Regions from separate parts of the Homo sapiens genome. Here region 2 is linked to region 1. The links are contacts of gene promoters, found by promoter capture Hi-C in blood cells and fetal thymus (Javierre and others, 2016). All regions are on one chromosome and are shown on one strand. The core of a region is centred on a gene start or on the middle of the fragment in contact, and the rest is flanking DNA. Distances in the headings are between cores, read along the strand shown. Region 1 has its middle 61 kb from the start of SCAF8. Region 2 holds the start of CLDN20 (claudin 20).

Evidence for each region. Contacts are between HindIII fragments. The CHiCAGO score rates a contact against its expected background, and 5 or more counts as called.
Region 2: the fragment with the promoter of CLDN20 here is called in contact with a fragment that was not itself captured in region 1 in 3 of 17 cell types (M0 macrophages, total B cells and endothelial precursors); the score reaches 5.5 in M0 macrophages.

Annotation. Positions count from the first base shown.
Region 1 is chr6:154,669,207-154,675,032 of GRCh38, reverse strand. No RefSeq gene overlaps it. Among named protein-coding and RNA genes, the nearest start is that of SCAF8, 61 kb to the left of the region's middle. The HindIII fragment of the contact is 6,007 bases long and covers 1-5,144 here.
Region 2 is chr6:155,261,316-155,267,438 of GRCh38, reverse strand. It overlaps CLDN20 (claudin 20), which reads right to left and starts at 3,426. Exons shown (of 2, transcript NM_001001346.3): 1 at 3,151-3,426. All of the region lies in intron 5 of TFB1M (transcription factor B1, mitochondrial), which reads left to right. The HindIII fragment of the contact is 9,121 bases long and covers 1-6,123 here.

The sequences.
Region 1 (5,826 bases), core at 892-3,391:
TTGAGCAGGTTACTTAACTTTTCTGTGCCTCAGTTTCCTTGGCTTAAAATGGAGATAAATGTACCTAAACCACAGAGATTAGAACAATACCCAGTGTGAAGTAAAACACTCAACAACTGTTAGCTATTTGATTTTATTTCTTTGAGATGGAGTCTCGCTCTGTCACCCAGGCTGGAGTGCAGTGATGCGATCTCGGCTCACTGCAGCCTCTGTCTCCCAGGTTCAAGCAATTCTCCCCGTCTCAGCCTCCCAAGTAGCTGGGATTACAGGCGCCCACCACCACACCTGGCTAATTTTTGTATTTTCAGTAGAGACGAGGGTTCACTGTGTTGGCCAGGCTGGTCTTGAACTCCTGACGTCAACTCCTGATCCACCCACCTTGGCCTCCCAAAGTGTGGGGATTACAGGCGTGAGCCACGGTGCCTAGCCCAGCTATTTTTATTAAAACAAAAATCTTGTAGTTTATATCATTCTGGGATAGGAGTAATCTCTGGACCATCTTTCTGGGCCATCTTTTTGTTGGAAGAAAGCTGAGGACAAATGACTCTTGTTCCAAGGATTGGGGAGAGGTTCTGCAAGATGGAGGATACAAACTTGTGCTTGTGTAATCTGGATGGAGAACCCACGGAGACAAAGGTATTCTAGGGGTGTGAATGGGGGTGGTTGTGGCTGTCTCAGAGGGTTTTGTGAGTAGAGATGTAGCCACAAGGATGGTGTTAGATTAATGAAGCGGGGGCAGTGGGAGGTGACAGAAAGCTCAGTGATAAAATCCCGTGTAGTCACTGGATATTGGCTGGGGCTGGAGGAGGCCTCCAGGCTGCTCCATGTGGTCCTTGAGTTGGGGACATGCTCTGCAAGTCCTCAGATATGGTCAACACCCTCTCTGAGCTGCCAGGAAGAATTAGGTATGTGCAAAGAACAAGATATTGAGCAACCCAGTGTGGGACAGGAGGCTACAGACACCGAAGCTGGTCACAGAACTTGATGAACCTTGCACAGTTATCATTTCTGCAAAGCTGGTGGAGTTGCTGTTATGGCCTCGGTGCAGCAGGAATGCAATGGTTTCTGTTGTCTGATGATAGAAATACAGGTTCCAGCTAAGGAAGTCAAACCAGAGTTGGGTTTTTGTGGAGAGATTTTTGATTCCTTTTTAATTTTTTTTCTTAAGGTAATAACAAAATTTAAACAACAAAAAATAGTATAAATAATAAAAACTATAGTCTTTCTTACGCTGTCCTTAAAGATAACCACTTTTAACTCATTCAGCTTTTTGTTCTTTCAGTTTTCTTCACAGGTCTAAGTACTGTGCTAAAATCACTATCTGTAAAGGCATCAATTTAAATAAATATTTACTGACTTTCTGCTCTGATACATGAGTTTTCAGCTCACTATTTTTGTGTCTGTCTTGTAGAGGGTATAGATGGGTAGTGTTGTTTGGCCTGCATGCTGTTGAAAAAACGTTTGAGCCAACATTTAAAGGATCAAGTTAAATAAAAAAATATAGATTTTCCTACTTCTCTTGAAAAATCCTCAAATATTTAAATGAGGTTTGCATTCTTTTATGGCAGCTGTTGACCTGAGCTGAATAACGACTGTCGGTCCCTCAGATTTCCAGTTTCCCCAGATGTCCCCACTCCTTACTGCTCTTTAGTGCTGAGGCTGAGTGTAAATTGACATTTCTCATCATTGGTCTCTTTCTTTTCTTTTTTTTTTTTTGAGATGGAGTCTTGGTCTGTCGCCAAGGCTGGAGTGCAGTGGCGCGATCTTGGCTCACTGCAACCTGCACCTCCCGGATTCGAGGAATTCTCTGCCTCAGCCTCCCGAGTAGCTGGGATTACAGGCGCCCGCCACCACGCCTGGCTAATTTTTTGTATTTTTAGTAGAGACGGGGTTTCACCATCTTAGCCAGGCTGGTCTTGAACTCCTGACCTTGTGATCCACCTGCCTTGGCCTCCCAAAGTGCTGGGATTACAGGCGTGAGCCACCATGCCCGGCCTCTTTCTTTTCTTATAGCAAACAAAATATTTCCCCGTACCCATGTGGGAAAATTACAAATTGACAAAGCAAGTCCAATAGTCTTTCTCACATCAGAGTGTGTTTCATGCATGGGTTTAGCTGCCTGCCATGGTTTGCATTTACATTTGAGACCGTTGGTTGTTCTATTTGCTGTAATCATAACCTGAAGCAATGTACTCCTAACAGTAGGGAAAGTGGGATGCTTCCTCTCTTCATTTTGACTGAGGTGCCAGTAAGATATATGCCAAAATGGATGTGAAGCCAAGTCCTGTATGCAGATTACAAAGGAAATGGTCAACATCCGGTTTAATGACTCTCAAGCTCCTCTTTACCCACTACTTCATGGAGAATATAGAAGCGCTGGAGTGGAGAGGATGAGAGCATTGTTCGAGGAAGGTTTCTTTGGAGAAGGTTGACTGTGAGCCTCATCCACATATCCCACCAAGGGGCTGAGACAGAGATCGCCTGCCTCATTTCCTCAAAATAAGCATGGACTTTCCCTGGACCAAATGGGGAGGCTCCCAAAGTATCCCCGGGGATTTGAGGGACAGAGTGGACTAGTATCTAATTCCTATTCCTATCAAGTCTGAAGGTCAACAAAGGTTAGATGGTGAGCCAGAAAGCAGCTTGGATGATGGAATCCGAGAGGGTGGCTGTTGCGCTCAGGAATAACTGCATTCTCCTCCAGTGGCCACTTAATAGGAGCATGAGTGTTTGTGGACCACATGGCAGAGTGAACCCTGGAGCCACTTAAAGTCCTGCCTAAGAGGACAGACTGGGAATGTGATGGATGCAAATAATCAGCCTCCTTGTTAAGTGAGTTGCTAGAGGACCAAGGGTTGAGTGGAGAGAGGTCAGCTGAAGGTGACGCACCACTCACATCCTAGGTACTTCACCCAGAGAGACCCTCCTGGGTCAGCCTCTGCAAGTGCCATGAAAGAAAGAGACAGTTTTAGGCATCTACCAGAACCTGTTGGGCAGTTATAACAGTGGTAAGTCTATTACCTGGCAGTGAACAGAAATGTCACGGGATTAGTCCAAGATGTCATCTGGAGCAGGAGAAGTGGAACATCACTGAAGACATTTGCAAGGAGCAATGGAAAAATAAAGCACATTTTGATCACATCCCATGAATTGTGCTAATTTAGCATATTAGTAACTTGCTTTTACTTTTCTTTCTAGAATCATCACAGGTCACTTTATAAAATGAGGCTATTAGCACTTCCTCTCTTCCTCGGAACCGCTGCCATCTGCATTTAACTCCTGAAATGCCAATGTTAAAAACATAACATAACTTCTGTAAGCATTACTATGTCTTTAATGTCTTTTTGTTGTTGTTGAGACAGGGTCTCACTCTGTCACCCAGGCTGGAGGGCAGTGGTGTGATCACGGCTCACTGCAGTCTTTACCTCCTGGGCTCAAGGAATCCTCCCACCTCAGCCTCCTGAGTAGCTGGTGTGCCCAGCCAACTTTTGTATTTTTTTGTAGAGACAAGGTTTCATTATGTTGCCCAGGCTGGTTTCTAATTCCTAGGCTCAAGTGATTCACCCGCCTCGGCCTCCCAAAGTGCTGGAATTACAGGCGTGAGCCACCGCGCCCGGCCAATTTTTGTATTTTTTTATAGAGACAGGGTTTCACTATCTTGCCCAGGCTGGTCTCTAACTCCTAGGCTCAAGTGATTCGCCCGCCTCAGCCTCCCAAAGTGGTGAGATTACAGATGTGAGCCACTGTGCCCAGCCTAATGTTTATACCTTGATGAAAATATTCCTGATTTTGGCTAGAAGGGTATAGTTTGTAGCAGACCATGCTCCCATCAAGGAAATCTAGAAAAACCAGATATAATATCAAAAACATCTGCTGGAAGGCACTGAGGCAGTAAGGACTCAAGGGAAGAATATTGGAGATAAGGGTGGGTCACTGAGATGAGCGTCACCCTCTGCTTGCAGTTTGATCCCTGAGTCAATGCCAGTTCTTGGCACTAACAGAGGTTTCGAAGTTGGTTAGAAGGTGAATGCTAAGAGGCATCAAAGTGGTAGAACTTCCATCAATCTCACGAGGCACAGGAGGTGAACATTGGAGTTTTGGGGCTGCCAGAACAGCTGAGACTTGAGGGTACAAACTCCAGGGAGTGCAGAGAAGTAAGCCCAGTAAAGGCTGCATACCCATTTCCTCCTTGGGGCCTCTACTGATTCTTAAGCTGAACAAGGTTAGAGTTGGAGAAATCGAACAGAAAAGGTTGAAAAGCAGAGTGGAAGCCTCATGGCACTGAGGTAAGGAGTCAAAATTTGGAGCCAAGGAGGAAGTGTTCTAGTAAACACACTAGGCTTCATTTGCAGGGCTAACTCCTAGGAGTGGGTTCAATTTAGAGGAAGGCTAAACCTTAAAAAGATTGCAAGACAGCTTCAAAGCTCTATGCACTGAATGTACTGAGGTGATGTACACCCACTCCTGCTGCCTGCCAGAGAATAAGGAGAAACCTCTTGATAGAAGATAACATCATCCAGAGCCTCTGCAGTTTTTCTATAGAATGTCTGACATTCAATAAAATGTTGCTGACTGGGCGTGGTGGCTCACACCTGTAATCCCAGCACTTTGGGAGGCCCAGGTGGGAGGACCACTTATGCCCAGGAGTTCAAGACCAGCCTGTGCAAGATGGTGAGACCCAGTCTCCACAAAAAAAGGAAAAAGTTAGCCAGGCATGGTGGTGTGTGCCTGTGGTCCCAGCTACATAGGATTCTGAGGTGGGAGGAGGATGGCTTGAGCCCAAGAGTTCGAGGCTGCAGTGAGCCATGTTCATGCCACTGCATTTTGCCTTGGGCGACAGAGCAAGACCCTGTCTCAAAAAAAAAAAGATTGTGATTAATACATAGAAAATATGGAATTGAATGGTTGCTTTAAATTGGAAGTATAACTTACATAGAGAAAGGGGCACAAATCTTAAGTGTGAATTTTACATATAATAAAATTTCATAAATGCATATACCTTCCTAACCAGTGTGAAGATCAAAATCTGGAACATGTCCGGGACCTCAAAGGGCTCCTTCCCTGCCTGTCTCATCTAGTATTCCACCGATGGAGCAATTATTCTCACGCTTATCACCTTGTATTAGTTTTGCTGTTCCTAAGCTTTATTTAAGTAGAATCATACAGTATGCACTCTCTTACTTTTGACTTCTTTCATTCAACATTATGTCTGTGAGATTCATAGTTCTTTCTACTGACAGTGCAGAATATACCACAAATTCTTTGTATTAATATTCACAATTTATCATTTTTACTCTTGGTAGACATTTGAGTTGTTTCCAATTTTAGGCTATTTTAAATAAAGCTTCCACTAGCTTTCTTGTACATGTCCTTTGGTGGACACAAGCACTCCTTGCTGCTCAGCGTATATTTGGAAGTGAAATTGTTGCATCAGAAGGGGTATGTAGATTTAGCTTTAGAAAGTACTGCCAAGCATTTTCCAAACTGGTTGTACCTACTTATGCTTCCAAGAGCCATTTAAGAGAGCTCCAGATGCCTAATTTTCTTACCAAAATTTGTTATTGTCAGTCTTTTTTTTCTTTTTGAGGTGGAGTTTCGCTTTTGTTGCCTAGGCTGGAGTGCAGTGGCACAATCTCGGCCCACTGTAACCTCCGCCTTCCGGGTTCAAGGGATTCTCCTGCCTCAGCCTCCCCAGTAGATGGGATTAAAGGCACCCACCACCACGACCGGCTGATTTTTGTATTTTTAGTAGAGATGGGGTTTCACCGTGTTGGCCAGGCTGGTCTCGAACTCTTGACCTCAGGTGATCCACCTGCCTTGGCCTCC
Region 2 (6,123 bases), core at 2,177-4,676, 590 kb before region 1:
CATACTGAAGACCACCTGGTCTGTGTGTAGGCCCTAATTTACAATTCTTGCTTCCCAAATAAAACATTGAATTTGGAGATTTGTCTCTATATTTTAGGTTTACTTCAACAGCTATGAGATGGCTGCCTCAGCTGACCCTTTCATCAAGAAGCACCATATTCTACGGCCAGGTGTGGTGGCTCATGCCCATAATCCCAACACTTTGGGAGGCCAAGGCAGGTGGATTGCTTGCGGCCAGAAGTTTGAGACCAGCCTGGCCAACATGGTGAAACCCAGTCTCTATTAAAAATACAAAAATTGGCCGGGTGTGGTGCCACCCACCTGTATTTCCAGCTACTCAGGAGGCTGAGACACGAGAATTGCTTGAACCCAGGAGGTGGAGGTTGCAGTGAGCCGAGATCATGCCACTGCACTGCACTCCAGCCTGGGCGATAGAGTGAGACTCTGTCTCAAAAAAAAAAAAAAAAAGGCAGCAAAGTATTCTAGAGTTCTCTTCCCCTCTCCCACCACCACCCCAGACTATGCTTTAATGTCTCACTTTCCAGAACTGGCTCATTTGGTCATTCTTTTTTTTTTTTTTTTTTTTTTTTTTGAGACGGAGTCTCGCTCTGTCGCCCACCCTGGAGTGCAGTGGCACGATCTCAGCTCACTGCAAGCTCCGCCTCCCAGGCTCACGCCATTCTCCTGCCTCAGCCTCCCAAGTAGCGGGGACTACAGGCGGCCGCCACCACGCCTGGCTAATTTTTTGTATTTTTTAGTAGAGACGGGGTTTCACCGTGTTAGCCAGGATGGTCTCGATCTCCTGACCTCATGATTCGCCCGCTTTGGCCTTCCAAAGTGCTGGGATTACAGGTGTGAGCCACAGCGCCCAGCCTCATTTGGTCATTCTTAACTGTGAGCGAGACTGGGGAAGTTTGTATCTGGCTTTTCATCCCCCCTGGTGAGCTGTATCCAGCAGGGACTCAGGCTGGCTTTGTGGGTGTCACAGGGCTCTAGCTGCACTTCTAGTGAATTTAATCTCCAGGATTTGAGTTGACTGTGTGATACTTTCCCAAGCAACTAGGATTGTTCCCCAAACCTGTGATTCTCATTTCTGCCCACACGAGGGCTTTGGAAAAGCCCCAAGAGGCTCAGGCCCAACCCAGTGGCTTTTATTTAATTTTCTGGGATGGAGCCCCATCCTTGTATTTTTCAAATGCTGTCCATTTAATTCTAATGAAAAGTTGGGGTTCTGAATTTTAAAAAAAATGTTGTGATGGTTAACACTGAGTGTCAACTTGATTGGATTGAAGGATACAAAGTATTGATCCTGGGTGTATCTGTGAGGGTGTTGTCAAAGGAGATTAACATTTGAGTCAGTGAGGTGGGGAAGGTAGACCCGCCCTCAATCTGGGTGGGCACCATCTAATCAGCTGCCGGCTCAGCTAGAATATAAGTGGGCAGAAAAATGTGAAAAGAGAGACTGGCTTAGCCTCCCAGCCCACATCTTTTCTCACGTGCTGGATGCTTCCTATCCTCAAACATTGGACTCCCAAGTTCTTCAGTTTTGGAACTTGGACTGGCTCTCCTTGCTTCTCAGCCTGCAGATGGCCTATTGTGGGACCTTGTGATCATGTGAGTTAATACTTAATAAACTCTTCTTTATATATATATTTAATATTTACATATTATATATTAAATATATATTATATATTATATATAATATATATTTATATTATATATAAATATATTTAATATTTATATTTAATAAACTCATATATATATATTCCATTAGTTCTGTCCCTCTAGAGAACCCTAATACAAATGTTTTTTCTTCTTTGCTTTCCATTCAATCTTGAAAATAATGACAGTTCAGAGTAAGATAAAATAGTTACCTGTTCCAGCCCTACAAATTTAAAGTGATTTGACCTAATCCTAAAATAATGTTCTTCTTCTGTCCCAGCCTTAGGAAATTAACAGTATCAGCTATGAATATACGAATGTACTGACCAAGCATCTTCAGTGTGATGTCTAGTCCGTTTGATAATTATGGTTTATTATGAATTACTATATTTGTATGCATGTTCTATTTCTCAGTCTTTTAATAATATTACTAGCAGCATTTATCAAGTGCCTTCTGAGTTTGTTTAGATTGAGAGCCTCTCTGAGGTCCTGTCTTCTCTCTGAGGGACGGGAGTTGCTCAGGACCTGCAGCGCTGGGGTCCAGACCCTGGCAGTTGCCAATGTGCTGCCACACCCATGGCCCGGCTGGGCAGCCTCGAAGCTGCCTCAGGCAGCTCCTGCCACATCCACAAACCCAAGCGGGAGCACAGCCCGGGACAGGAAACACAGGGCACGTCCAGATGCTGCTGCTTCACAGACACCAAGGGCGTGGTTTGTGGAAAAGGCCTAGTTTTAGGAAGGTCTTTTCCCTCTGATCATCCAGGAACTCCAGATTAAATGTAACAGAAAACCTTTATACAACAATTGTCAGTTCTTGTTCCATTTGTGCTTTCTTGAGGATTACACGTGCATCTCCCTGAAATTGTTTAATCTCTTGGGACCAAGAGACACTGACTCATCTTGTTGTTGTTATTACTAATAGGTGTAATTTACATACATACATATGTACATTTACATAATTTACACAGTAAAAAAACTCTTCATCCCCCTCACCACATTTCTTAGTCTTATTTCTCTTGTGATCTGAGTTTGCTGTCATTCTCTTGGCCTCAGTTCTTCCTACCACATCTGCTCTGAGAGGAAACACTATGTGACTGTTTAAAATCTGTTCTTTTTTTATGATCCCAAGAAGAAAGAGAAAAAAACAAAGATCTGTAGGAAGAAAAAAGGGTGAGGACAGAACTTCTGCAGAAATAAATATTGTTACAATAACACAAATTGTAAACTTTAGGATAGGTACTGACCGTGTAGTTGATCTTTATTGAACCAGTTGGTTTGAAATACTTAGAATGCTGTCAGCTTTAAGGTTTTACAGTGGAAATTCTTTCCTTAAATTGGCTTTTGGACATGGATCACAGGTAGAGTGAACCAATTCCAGAAAATGTGATCTACATTCACATTTGTCAGTATTTTCTTTTTCTATGACATGCATAATTATCATATCACAGGCATCAGTGACTTGCTGCCTCTACCTGGGATTCTCCTTACCTGGGAAAGTTGTAACCTCGAGGCCCGTGATGTCCTAAAGTGGACTGTCATTAGCTTGGTGGAGGTACTTGAAGAGCAAGCAGACACTGGAGGGTGGGGAAACCAAGCATCCGGAGGCACTCATCTTGCTCCGTTGTTTTACCCGACAGTGAAGTGGCTCTCCCAAGCCCCTGTCCTCCTGCGTTCCATTTTGTGGTGCCTATAGCCTGCAAGATGCCATATGCTTCCTGTTCCCAACCACCCAGGTCTGCCCGTGATCATCCCACTTCGAACTTTGAATCCTTCTTATATGTTGTTCTTTAAAGTCTTACTGATTATTCCCTGTGGTCTTTTTTTTTTTTTTCACTAGCCCTTCTGTTGTCTTAAGTTATGGCTGTGTCTTGGCTATTTACATAGTAACTTCCTCATCATTTTTTCATCTCCACTATCTTGTCCTCTAATGGTCTTGAACACCGTGAGAGTGTTGAATGAAGACCCTTTTGTAGACAGTGGCCAGCATTGTTTCTGTGTCTGTGCATGTGGTCGTGACTTAGCTTTTGGGCATATGATAATCATCAGGAACTGAGTTGTACGTCTCTTCAGTGTCCTCTGTATATCATGTTGATTACAGTTCTCAGTTGTAATATCTAATATCTAAGATTTAAGATTTAATATCTCCTTAGCCCGGGTCCCTTGTGAGTTCCAAGTGCTGCTCTGAGCTGATAACCAGTCACGTCCTAGACACCCTGGCCTGGAAACTAGGACATCTGCCTCGGGCCTGTTATGGCCAAGGCTGCTAACACTGAGAAACAGTCTTAGCTTGTTACAGCGTTGACGTATAGGGTTAGAAAGGCAAATATTTAAATTCATTTTAAATCCTTTCATTTGAAATTTTAGTAGGTCATTTTGGTATACTGATGGACTGAGTTTGGAAAAGGCTGGCGGCATTAAACTAGAATATTTTAAGTACTTCTGATGCCTTTGTACTGATTTCTTTTTTGTAATCAAACCCATTAATAGACTTAAAACTCAAGGAAGAAAAAATAATACTTGTAATTTTAAATAAGCATTCAATTATAAGTAAAAAACATTTTTGTATTCGTTACCATAGTTACCAAGCAGCTTTCCTATAGTTCTAGAAAAAAATGGGCTCCATCATTCAGAGTAATTCTGAAAGGTGCCTTTGGGGGAAAGGGAGAGGAAGGGGTGGTACAGGAGAGGTCCTGGCCGTCCCAGAAGCAGGAGACATAACTGGAAGAGCTTTGTTGACGCTGAGTTTTACAGAATCTCCCACTAAATAGTAACTGCATTTGTGAGGGGAATTCTCTTTTAGCCGTGACATAATATAAGCCAACTTAACAGAGTATTGGAATTGTATTCAAACTTTAGAAGTCGACGCTATAGTTTACATGGGGTACTACTATATTTGTTCAGGGTTTTAAAACTTTATTTAAATCAAGCAAAAGTTAGACACTTCCTGTATTTGCAAATACCAACTATATCTCAAAGGAATGAAATCAGGCAAATAAAGATGAGGCCAAAATTTAAAATCTAAGGAAGCTGAAAGTGGCAGTTTCTGTACTGGAAGAGAGTGCATCTATCTCTGTATTTGTGCTTTTGGTCTTAATAGTTTGTAAGCCTTATGTAGAGTTTTGATAATATTTCATGGTTTTAGGCCTAGGCAGGGATTAGATTTTATCTCAGATTTTGCTAAGAGTATTTCTTCTGGAGACTAGCAGGCTGCTAGTAAGAATTGATAGAATTGGCTCTTTGTCACTGGGAGAACTGGAGTTGAAGGGTTACAGGAGATGAGTCCTGGAGAACGGGAGGCAGGGACAAGGGTGCCAGGAAGCTCAGGGGATGAAAGGGAAATGGAGAGTCCAGTGAGAGAAGGCTGGCGAGGTGTAGAGAGTGGCCAGACACATGCCTGACAGTTGGGACCACTTCTCTATACAAATCAGGAGGAGGCGAGGTAGGCAGGATAGTTCAGAGTTTGTGGGAAGGAACCTGACATCTGAAGTCAGTGGAGTGTGTCTTGGGCTGCTGCCTGCACTCTGCCATTCATAGATCAGGTCTTCTTTTTCCTTCCCCAGAACTGCCCTGAGCTGAAACCACCTTTCTTCTCTCCCTATAGCAGTACATCTACCCCACCTACACCCTGCATCCACTCCACAGCCCCTTGTCTTCTTCAGTCCCTCTTTCCCTGATGACCACAGACCTCTCCAAGCTGGGCACTGTTCTATGGTGCGTTTTGTTAAAGTCTAAGGGAAGTCCTGTAGGAAGAGGTAGTTGTTACTAAACTTGAGGAAACATGAAACAACATATAGCACACAATTCAAAAAACTTACTAAAATTTATTAAGAGCATTTGACATCTTAGTTAAGTCACTGTTCATAACTACTGTTCCACCATAGAATCTTCACAAGAACAGCCTGCTGGACTTCACAAGAAGGCTGATGGATGTTGGGGGTGGGCATTTGGGGTGTGGAAAGGCCGCTTGGCACATTCTCAGCATGCGCCAGCCCACACCGCCCCTTACCACCAAAGCCTTCTATTTCCCATTCCATCCAGTAGGAGCAGCTGTAGCTGACCTGAAACCTTCGGGGACAGGCTCATTGATTGTTTAAATAGGGAGGTGCAAGCTCTCAGGGGTCCGGGGCCTTGATGACACAGCTCAGGCACCACAGGCACCTCCCACAAGCGCGTCAGGCTGTGTGAGGCTGAGCACAGCTTATTTTCACTTTCTTGTCCATAAAGTCTCACATCATATTCAGTTGTTTTCCTTCTACCCTAAAAGAAACACAACCAGAAAAGCCAGTCTCCCATTTTCATCTGTTTAAGGAATTATGTAGCCACAAGGATCTTTAGAAGCAAGTCCTCTTAGGAGAAAATGACAACCTCTATGGGATTTCAACAATGGAGTTCCTTTTGAAAAGCAGTGGTGCAGCCCACACCTCCTAAATTGCCGTACTTTCTTCGCCTTTTGTTGAGTCT